3 separate regions of the Homo sapiens genome follow, and all the other regions are linked to region 2. Evidence: promoter capture Hi-C in human tissues and cell types (Jung and others, 2019). All regions are on one chromosome and are shown on one strand. Each heading gives the region's core, a stretch centred on a gene start or on the middle of the fragment in contact. The rest is flanking DNA. Distances are from core to core; before and after follow the strand shown.

Region 1 (3,501 bases), core at 545-3,044, 1.4 Mb before region 2:
ACATGCTGAATGAAGAAGCCTCAAGGTCTCTCTGACTTTCCTCCCTGCCCTCCTGATGCCCCCCACCATATCCCAAAGCCTTCATCTGCCTAAGATCCAGACCCACCAAAACGAACAACTGCTTTTCTTCTCCTCCTGTAGGACCAAGAAGGTAACCACACCTAAACAGACCCTTCACAAGATAATGTACAAGTTAATCTCTGTTCTCTGATCCATTGTCCCTAGCAATCCTATCAACAGAATTCCTCTTCTCCCCCTTCCCATAACCTGTTTCACCAGGATGGTATATAAGCTTCTGAACTACATTGGGATGTGGGGAATCACTCTGTGGTTCGCCCCATGTTCACATTAAATACATGTGTATGTCTTTCCTCCAATTAATCCACCTTGTCTGAGTTGATTTTTCAGCCAATCTTCAGAGGGCAAAAGGGAAGTTTCCCTTGGCCCCTACATCCACACTTTGTTTTCTAAACAATAAACTAATGCATTTAAAAGAATTATTAGTTTATGCTTTGGGGCACACAATGTATAAAGATGTAATTAGGGGAAATCAAATACTGAAAGAGGTGGGAAAGGAGCTATAAAGGAGCAGAGTTTTTATATGTCAAAGTTAAACTGGTATAAATTGAAATTACAATATTTAGGATGTTTAATGTAATCCCCATGGTAACCACACAAAAAGTAACTACAGAATATACTCAAAAGAAAATGAGATGTGAGCAGTGGCTCACACATGTAATCCCAGCACTTTGAGAGTCCGAGACATAGATCACTTGGGCCCAGGAGTTTGAGACAAGCTTGAGCAACATGGCAAAACCCAGTCTCTATTTAAAAATAAAATAAAATAAAAATTAGAAAATGCAAAGAAATGTAAACATTTCACTACAAAAAAAATCAGCTAAACAAAAAAATAGTAATGCAGGAAATAAGGAACAAAAGGATATATGCCTATAGAAAACAAATAGCAAAATGACAGAGGTCCTTCTTTTTACTTTTTGTGTGTGACAGGGTCTCCTTCTGTCATCCAGGTTGGAGTGCAGTGACATGATCATAGCTCACTGCAGCCTCGATCTCCTGGGCTCAAGTGATCCTCCTGCTTCAGCCTCCTGAGTAGCTAGGACTAAAGGTGCGTGCCACCATGCCTGGCTAATATTTTTTTGTTTGTTTGTTTGTAGGAACACGGTCTCATTATGTTGCCCAGGCTGGTTCAAACTCCTGGACTCAAGTGTTCCTCCCACCTCAGCTTCCCAAAGTGCTGGGATTACAGGAATGAAACACTGCACCTGGCCCTCCTTCCTTAACAGTAATTACTTTAAATGTAAATGGTTAAATGTTCCAATCAAAAGACTGGCAGAATGGATTAAAAGCACCTGATCCAACTACGTCCATCTACAAGAGACTCACTTTATATCCAAAGACACAAACAGATTGAAGGTGAAAGGATGGAAAAAATATTCCATGGAAACAGTAACCAAAAGATAGCAGGGTGGTGACTATAAGACAAAATAGACTTTAAAACAAAAAAGATTACAAGAGATAAAAGACATTACATATTAGTAAGAGGTTCAATACAGCAAGAAGATATAACATTTATAAACATTTACGTATCTAATGATCATCAAAATGTACAATGCAAAAACCAACAGAACTGAAGAGAGAAACAGACAGTGCTACAATAATAGTTTCAGACTTCAATACACCCTCCATCCCCAAAAATGGATAGAACAACCAAAAAGAAGATAAGGAAATAGAGGACTTAACACAAACCAACTAGATCTAACAGACATATACAACGCTCACTACCCTACAGCAGCAGCACATACATTGTTCAGAAGTGCCATGGGACGTTTTGCAGGATAGACTATATGTTAAGCCACAAGATATTTTATTTTGAAAGACAGATATCATACAAAGTATCTTCTCTGACCGTAACAGATGAGTATGACCAATAAAGATGAGTATACTGAGATACACAGAAGTTAAATCAGTAACCAATACAGATGAGTATACTGAAACACACGGAAGTTAAATAACTTGCCTAAAATTACAGTAGGCTGCAGAGCCACATTTCAAAACCAGGCATTTTGAAAAAGTAAGGTTAAGTAAGTTTTGAAAAGGGAAGATCAAGCCCCAAAAGTAAGATCAAGGAGTCAACAAAAACTTTTTTTAAATGATACATTTTATCTCAATTCAAAAGGAATTCTTTCCATAACCTACGGAAAGAATAAAAGCATGCTTTTGATTATTCGAAATTCTAATAATTACAAGCAATCAGTTATTTTCTCTTGTCAGATAATACTCTTGTCAAATATATCAATGAAAGCCTAATGATATAAAATGTTTAAAGTGATAACTCTTCTATTGTAAATCAAAAAAGCAGTAAACAAAATTATGCACTTACAAATAATGGTTGGATTGAAATTCCACATAAACATTAAGAACACTTCTCATTTTAAAAGCACTAGGAAAGACAAACATTAACAATTACAAGAAAGCACAAAGTGGGCAGTACACACAAAAGGTCACAGCACAGTATTGTTGGCAATACCAAAGATGGGTAGTGTTAAGGTAATTATGTGCAATTATTTCAAAATGTTAAGGATATCCAAATTACATAAGGCTCCAATCATAGCACAATGGTAAATACTCTGGAAGCCATTAATAGACAACTATGATAAACTGATTGTAAACTTGTATCATTAAAGTTGTTTGACAAAAATATCTGGCTTTTAACTCCCAGAACTTTACGTTACTGTTCTGTAAGTGCTTCTTAGCTATGTAAAACAAAAAGGCTAACACATTAGTTTTTTGGATTTTGTTGTTGTTGTTAGCAAAGAGCACATAGCAAAACAAATATACTACCTCCCAAAATGGCAACTACAGCAAAAGACCATTACTAAGGAAGCTCTCCTCCAAGCAGCACTTCTCAAACATAGCTACAATTTAGAATCATATAGGGATATTTAAAAAATACCAGTACATAACACCCACTCCAGACCAAATAAATCAGAGTATCTGGGGATGGGTACAAGTGTTTTAAAAAGTTCCCGAAGTGGGCCGGGCGCGGTGGCTCAAGCCTGTAATCCCAGCACTTTGGGAGGCTGAGGCAGGCGGATCATGAGGTCAGGAGATCAAGACCATCCTGGCTAACCCCGTCTCTACTAAAAATACAAAAAATTAGCCAGGCGTGGTGGTGGGCGCCTGTGGTCCCAGATACTCGGGAGGCTGAGGCAGGAGAATGGGGTGAACCCAGGAGGCAGACCTTGCAGTGAGCTGAGACCGCGCCACTCCACTCCAGCTTGGGTGACAGAGCGAGACTCCATCTCAAAAAAAAAAAAAAAAAGTTCCCGAAGTGATTCTAATGTGTAGCCAGGGTTAAGAATCACTATGCCAAGGAAATCTAAGCCCTCCGTGTTATCATTGCATACAGAGCTTTTGTCCTTAATTGTCTGAAGAAATATTCATTTTATTCAGCCAATTTGCAAACCAAGAGAGTAAAAC
Region 2 (3,321 bases), core at 331-2,830:
GTTAGAATTCCCAGTATTATACTGCAATTTACTTCCCTCGTTTTGAAATGTTACCATTACATCTTCCTTAAACTAAAAACAAAACATTAAGTTTACTATATACTTTATTAAACTTTTATAAAATACTAAAACTAGAGGAGAATTTGTAGAATATGAATGCCGTGATAAAAATCATTACACTTCGGCATTCTTCGGTCAAGAAGCCAATGTTAACTACGTAAACATTACTCCTTAACTAATGTTAACTAGAATAACCAATCATACGAGACTGCAGGTTTTAAACCTCTAGTGTTTCTCCCGCTTATTACCTCAAACTTATCTTCCTTCTCTCTTTTGTGTTGTCACGGTATATGGCAATTTCTGCTTTAAAATGTATGTATGCCTTAACCAGCCCTATGCGACTGCACATAACAAAAGACACGCTCCTGATCGGGTTTTAGAAAACCCACAGACCTGGGCACAAACCCCCGTTCCACGACCTACTAAACATACGCTATCTGAGCACAGGACATAGTTAAGAAAATTTTAAAAACAATTGAAAAAAGAATAAACATACAATGTCAGGAGAGTTTACTCATCTCCGTCTCTGCATCTACCTCCTAGGTTTCACTACCTACCTTCCAGTTTAGCCTTAGGATACGTACGCAAAACACCCGGTACATACATGGGTACTTTTCTTCCTTTTCGCATACTTTGAAGTGTGAAGTTTTCACTAACTACGTGCTCAAACGTCAGCTACATTCTATTCCTATCTGCAAAACCAATGTAATTAAATCTCAAGCGACCTTCTCAGACTCAAGTCTGAGACACGAACGAGCATTACCGTCTTTAAGTTTCTCTTTCCCGGACTTCCGGAGAAGGCTACCTCCGGAGAGAGGCGCCGGGAGGGTGAACAACCAGTGGCAGGGAGAGGCAGCTCGGCCCCACCGCCAACCTCAGAGGCGCGACGCCCGGCCCCATCCTCAACCCCACCGCTGCCCCCGCGGAAGGAAGCCACGTCCCCATTTCCGACCCCAAGTGAGGCTAGGAATTACGATGCACTTTTAAAAGGCACCTCGACTTGCAACACTTCGAGGGGGGCCCCAGCCCCGCAGCCACTGGGAACCGCGCGTCCGCTTCCCCCCAGCGCGCTCCCCACCCGGCCCGGCCACGAGTGGACTCCAGGCTGGCCGCCATGTTGCCGGAGTCGCCGCCGCACCCCGAGCGCGGCCCGCCCGCCCGACCGTGGCCCGAACCCGGGCCCCGCCCGCACGGCGAGGAGGCAGTGCGGCTCGGCTGGGCAGGGGAGGGCGGGAAGCCCACAGGGCCCGCGCCCACCTGGTGCCGGAGTGGTGACCAGCGGGAGGGACGTCACCGGCGCCGAGGTTACGTTGGAGATGGGCGCTAAAGTCGTCACGTTCGGGTGCTGGGTCGTGTTCTTGTCCGCGGACAGCACGCAGAGCACGCCCAGGCAGGTGGCGGCCCAAAGCAGTGAGCGGGAGAGCCGCGACATCGTGTCCTCAGCGCTGGCGTTCGGGAGAAAGCTAAGGCTCGCAACGCTCAGTCAACCCCTCAATCCCCTGCGGCGCCGCCTCCGAGACTACGCTCCCCCGCGGGAGCGCGCAGGGGTCACGTGAGAGGCCCCTGTTTTCGGCGTGCGGGGGCGAAGAGGAGGGAGGTGGGGCTCGGACGATACCAACGGGAATCCTACGGGGGGAAGCAGGGGAGTCGGGAGGAAGCCGAAGGAACCTGGCCCTCAAAGCGACTGTGCCACAGCCAAGAAAACTGGGAGCTTCTGCAAATCGTTCTTCTTGCCCTCAGATTACCAGACACGACGCAGCTGGACTTGTCTCATGCCTGCGATAGGGACGGCCCCCACCCTGACTTGCATGGAACAGTCGACATAATGTGGCCTACTGCTTCCACCTGAGCGCCCCGCCAGGCTGTAATTCCGCGGGCCCACGTGACCTCCGGGGCCGCGCCTTCCGGACGCAACTCCACTGGGGCGGAAGTTGGTTTTGTGCGGCTCTCAAGAACTAAGTTTGTGCTGTGCTGCGGGATCCCCAGGGAGCTTCCTTATATCTTCGGCAGGACCCCTTCTTTTTTTCTTGAAGATTGATTTTGCTAGAAGTTATCCTGTGATGGGACTCCCTAGGGGAATGGAGGCACCACGTGGTTAAGGAGTTTGTGCGTTGCCGCCCACATAGTGTGGGCAGCTGAGGCGCCGCCCGGATCAGAGCCGCAGGGCGTCTACTCTGTCACTTTCCCAACCTGACTTTTCCGGATTGCTATTTCAGACGGCGGTTGCAGCAGCCGACCTGTCTCAACTCCACCACTGTAGTCAGAGAATCAAAAGCGGTCTGAGTTGCGAGGTCATTGGGGAGGCCCCCACCCCCACATTACCAGTGAGGAAACTGAGACTTAAAAAAGTGACCTGACCTGGACACGGGATTGCCTGACATCAGAGCTGGATTCTTAAGTTCCTGTTAGTGTTAAGGCGCTGCTCAGACTTTTAGTAAAGGTGAGCGCCATCTACTGCCAAGTCTCACAAAATATTCGCAAAATTTGATACGGTTATCACATGGTAAAAATTAGACTTTAAAAGTTGTATTTAATGCTGTGTTTTCAGCTGTTGTACACTTATGTAATTTTAATTATGCAAAGTTATCCTAATAATATAGGAATATTAATTGCTTTCGTGAGGTCTGTCTTGATGTGCCACGATGACTTTTTTGATGTGCCAAAAAAGATGACTACATAGTGCTTTTACCTTTTTGCTCAAATAGAAAGATTTTATTTCCCCTTGGGATCTTTTCAGTGTCGTCCTTCTGTACCCTCAGGACTATGAACATTTGTTCCAATGACTACGCTAGTTGGAGTAGTGTTGCTTGGATGTAAACAAAAAGCTGATAGTTTTGACTGATCCAGCCCAGAAGCATGAGAATGCTGTCAGGGAAGTGAGCTCCCACCATAAGCCCTTCAGAGAAGTGTCTGCTCTTCTCTCAGGAGGCCTCTCTCTATATTTAACACTTGACTATCTGGCACCCAGACCAAATGAAAGCGCAAGGCAACTTTAATTTTTTTTTAAGGTTAAGAATGTAAATAGGGGCCGGACGCGGTGGCTCACGCCTGTAATGCCAGCACTTTGGGAGGCCAAGGCGGGTGGATCACCTGAGGTCCGGAGTTTGAGACCAGCTTGGCCAACATGGTGTAAACCCCGTCTCTCCTAAAAATACAAAAATTAGCCGGGCATGGTGGCACGTGCCTGTAATCCCAGCTACTAGCAGGGCTGAGGCAGGAGGATCGCTTGTATCCGGGAGGCGGAGGTTGCAGTGAGCCGAG
Region 3 (3,275 bases), core at 137-2,636, 1.2 Mb before region 2:
CAAGAGATTTAAAAGCACTTGAATTTTCTTTCCCAGGTAACCACAACATTTGTTCATTGTATAAATGACTAAGGAAAAAATTGCACCTAACAAGACTCTTATTATACTAAAAGTCAAGCTTATATTTAAAGATGCTGGCTTGTTGTACAGAGGGTATTCTCATTCCCCACAGGGAATAAAATTAGGTCCCCTGGAGAGTAGAATAATTCCCAGAAAGAAAGCACTGGATTATTTCTCTCTAATTTCACCTATTGGCTTTTTAACCAAGTTCACCCTTCCGCATTAAAATATTAAGTCTTTGTAAATGCCTTAAAGATAAAAAGGCCTTTACAGAGTTGAGTGTTTTCTGCAGGTGAGATTTTACATTCTGAATTCCCTCCTCTCAAATTACTTTACAAAGGGGATTAACTGCTCTCTTTATTCAAATACGTTAAGATCAAGCTTGCGAAAAGAGTCCCCTAAGAATTTTCATACTTCTGGGTACGGAAGTCTATAAAGTTAATCTCTGAAACAACATATCAAGCTTACAGGTACAATGTTGAGAGAAGAGTGCCAATTCAGCTCATTTTACCTTCCATTTTCCCTTTTGAACTTTTGACACAATCATGATTATATCTGATTCACTCTAACAGAAAGGGGAGGGGTGAGGGGGAAAAGTACTTTCCCTTCTATGATTAGCTAATAGTTTGATAGTTTATATACTTAAATTTAGAGGACCATGATTAGCTTAAGAAAGTTCCTTTAGTTTTCTTAACTGGTTATGATTTCTCTTTTTGCATGAGGACTGCTTTAGAGTTTAAAGTCACATCAAGAAATTCAAACATCACTTGCCCATTACATATGCAGTGGTTAACTTAGCCTGTTAAACGTCTTCCTCATCATTACAAGGATTTGTAATTCAATGTAACTGATTAAAATAACTAAGTGCAAAATGTGGGTTTTTTTTTTTTGTTGTTGTTGTTGTTTAAGGTACTGAACTATCACTGCTGAAACTCCTGTGATTGGTCACTTTCAATTTATTTAACTTTCATAAAATGATTGAAGGGCGGAGAGGTTTTTTACCTACAGCTTCAGGAGGACTAAACTATTATTTACTGATCATCTATAAAAGGGCACCATGCTAGATAAGGGAGAATCATTATTTATAATGATGAATAAGATGCAGACCTGGCCCTTATGAAACATACACCAATCAAGGTTAGAAAATAAGCATATAAAAAGTTGAATTTCCATGGTTAAAAATACTACAAACTGGCTGGGCATGATGGCTCAAGCCTGTAATCCCTGTACTTTGGAAGGCTGAGGTGGGAGGATCACAGGAGTTTGAGACCAGGCTGGGCAACATGGTGAGACCCCCATCTCTACAAAAAATAAAAAATTAGCTGGGCAGGCTGGGCGTGGTGGCTCATGCCTGTAATCCCAGCACTTTGGGAGGCCAAGGCGGGTGGATCATCTGAGGTCAGGAGTTCGCGACCAGCCTGGACAACATGGTGAAACCCTGTCTCTACTAAAAACACAAAAATTAGCCAGGCATGGTGGCGGGTACCTGTAATCCCAGCTACTCGGGATGCTGAGGCAGAACTGCTTGAACCCGGGAAGCGGAGACTGCAGTGAACCAAGATTGCGCCACTGCACTCCAGCCTGGGCAACAAGAGCGAAACTCTGTTTAAAAAAAAAAAAATTAGCTGGGTATGGTGGCACATGCCTGTAGTGGGAAGATAAGGTGTCAGGATGGCTTCAGCCTTCGAGGCTGAGGCTGCATGAGCTGTGATCACATCACTCACTGTATTTCAGCCTGGGTGACAGAGGGAGACGGTCTCAAAAAAAAGGGGGGCATTTTGGTGAATACATTATCCATTACTCTATTAAATACACATAACTTTTGAATGAACAATTTCAATGGGAATTAATCCTACAAATATTTCCACACATACAAAAATATTTTAGCATTGTAATAGACACAAAAAAAAACCCCAAAAAAGACCAGAAACAATAAATCTTACATTACAAGCTTATATTACACAGCTTTTTACAAAATATAACTCAGCCATAGGTTAATCAGAAAAGCTGTCTAGAATGTATGACATGTAAAAAGTTTCAGGCTGGGTGCGGTGGCTTATGCCTATAATCCCAGCACTTTGGGAGGCTGAGGCGGGTGGATCACTTGAGGTCAGGAGTTCAAGACCAGCCTGGCCAATACAGTGAAACCCCATCTCTACTAAAAATACAAACATTAGCCGGGTGAGGTGGCACGAGCCTGTAATTCCTGCTACTCCGGAGGCTATGGCAGGATAATCGCTTGAACCCGGGAGGCGGAGGTTGCAGTGAGGTGAGATCATGCCACTGCACTCCAGCCTGGGCGACAGAGCGAGACTCCACCTCAAAAAAAAAAAAAAAAAAAAAGTTTCAGAACAGTATATTATATAGCATAATACCATTTGTATAATATGAAAAGCACGGAAGAATTGACAATTGATTTGGCCCGGATTCATTCATTCTTTCCCCTCCTTTTCTTTCCTTTCCTCAGTCTCTCTGCTTCCCCTCCCTCTCCCCCTCCCTCCCTCCCCTTCCTTCCTTTAGAGACAGGGTCTCCCTAAGTTGCTCAGGCTGGTCTTGAACTCCTGGGCTCAAGGGATCCTTCCACCTCAGCCTCCCAAAGTGCTGGAATATGAGGTGTGAGCCACTGCGTACGGCCAGTCAGGACTCTTTTTCGTTTTGTTTGTTTTTGAGACAGAGTTTCGCTCTTGTCGCCCATGCTAGGGTAAAATGGCGCGAGTGCAATGGCCTCAGCCAGGACTCTTTTAACACAGAGCTAGCCATACTATAAGACAGCTGAAAATGGTGAAAATAGTGTGAGCTAAATGCAGAGAAGAAACAAGTACAGTGTATATTTAGTATATAATTCTTGAATATTCTAAAGCATAGGGAATGATGGGAAATAAAACTGAAAAGTTTAAATTGCACTCTAAATATGGGGCTAAGGTGACTACCTGTGAGCATCAGGAGTTAATAAATATGTTTGAATAGAAAAATGATAGCTATGAACAGAAAAAATAGAACAGAGAAGTTACTACAGAAGTAGAAGCCACAGATGAGCTGCATGTAGCATTAAGGTGTAGAATTAAGAACAGATGGCTCTAGTTGATTCCTAGGTTTATCTGCTTTGAAATGTATGGACAAGAGTCAGACTACTGAGGCAAATTACAGCAAAAATCCCTTAAAGGTTTTATCTTGGATGCCACTTTAAATGCTCTAGATTTACCCAGAAAGAATGC

Evidence for each region. The method cuts DNA at HindIII sites, captures the fragments that hold promoters and counts their contacts. A contact is called where the count stands out against the background at its distance.
Region 1: a fragment that was not itself captured here is called in contact with the fragment with the promoter of CD164 in region 2 in 1 of the 25 tissues and cell types used here (aorta).
Region 3: a fragment that was not itself captured here is called in contact with the fragment with the promoter of CD164 in region 2 in 1 of the 25 tissues and cell types used here (hippocampus).

What each region holds. Positions count from the first base shown.
Region 1 is chr6:107,948,647-107,952,147 of GRCh38, forward strand. All of the region lies in intron 1 of SEC63 (SEC63 protein translocation regulator), which reads right to left. Among named protein-coding and RNA genes, the nearest start is that of SEC63, 7.8 kb to the right of the region's middle. The HindIII fragment of the contact is 5,484 bases long and covers 1-3,501 here.
Region 2 is chr6:109,380,887-109,384,207 of GRCh38, forward strand. CD164 (CD164 molecule) reads right to left here and starts at 1,581. Exons shown (of 6, transcript NM_006016.6): 1 at 1,318-1,581. The coding sequence starts at 1,492. RefSeq lists a silencer at 1,039-1,318 and enhancers at 1,474-1,983, 1,539-1,888, 1,969-2,198. The HindIII fragment of the contact is 8,715 bases long and covers 1-3,321 here.
Region 3 is chr6:108,226,878-108,230,152 of GRCh38, forward strand. The region is part of intron 1 of SNX3 (sorting nexin 3); the gene reads right to left. Among named protein-coding and RNA genes, the nearest start is that of SNX3, 33 kb to the right of the region's middle. RefSeq lists a silencer at 3,085-3,275. The HindIII fragment of the contact is 3,127 bases long and covers 1-2,950 here.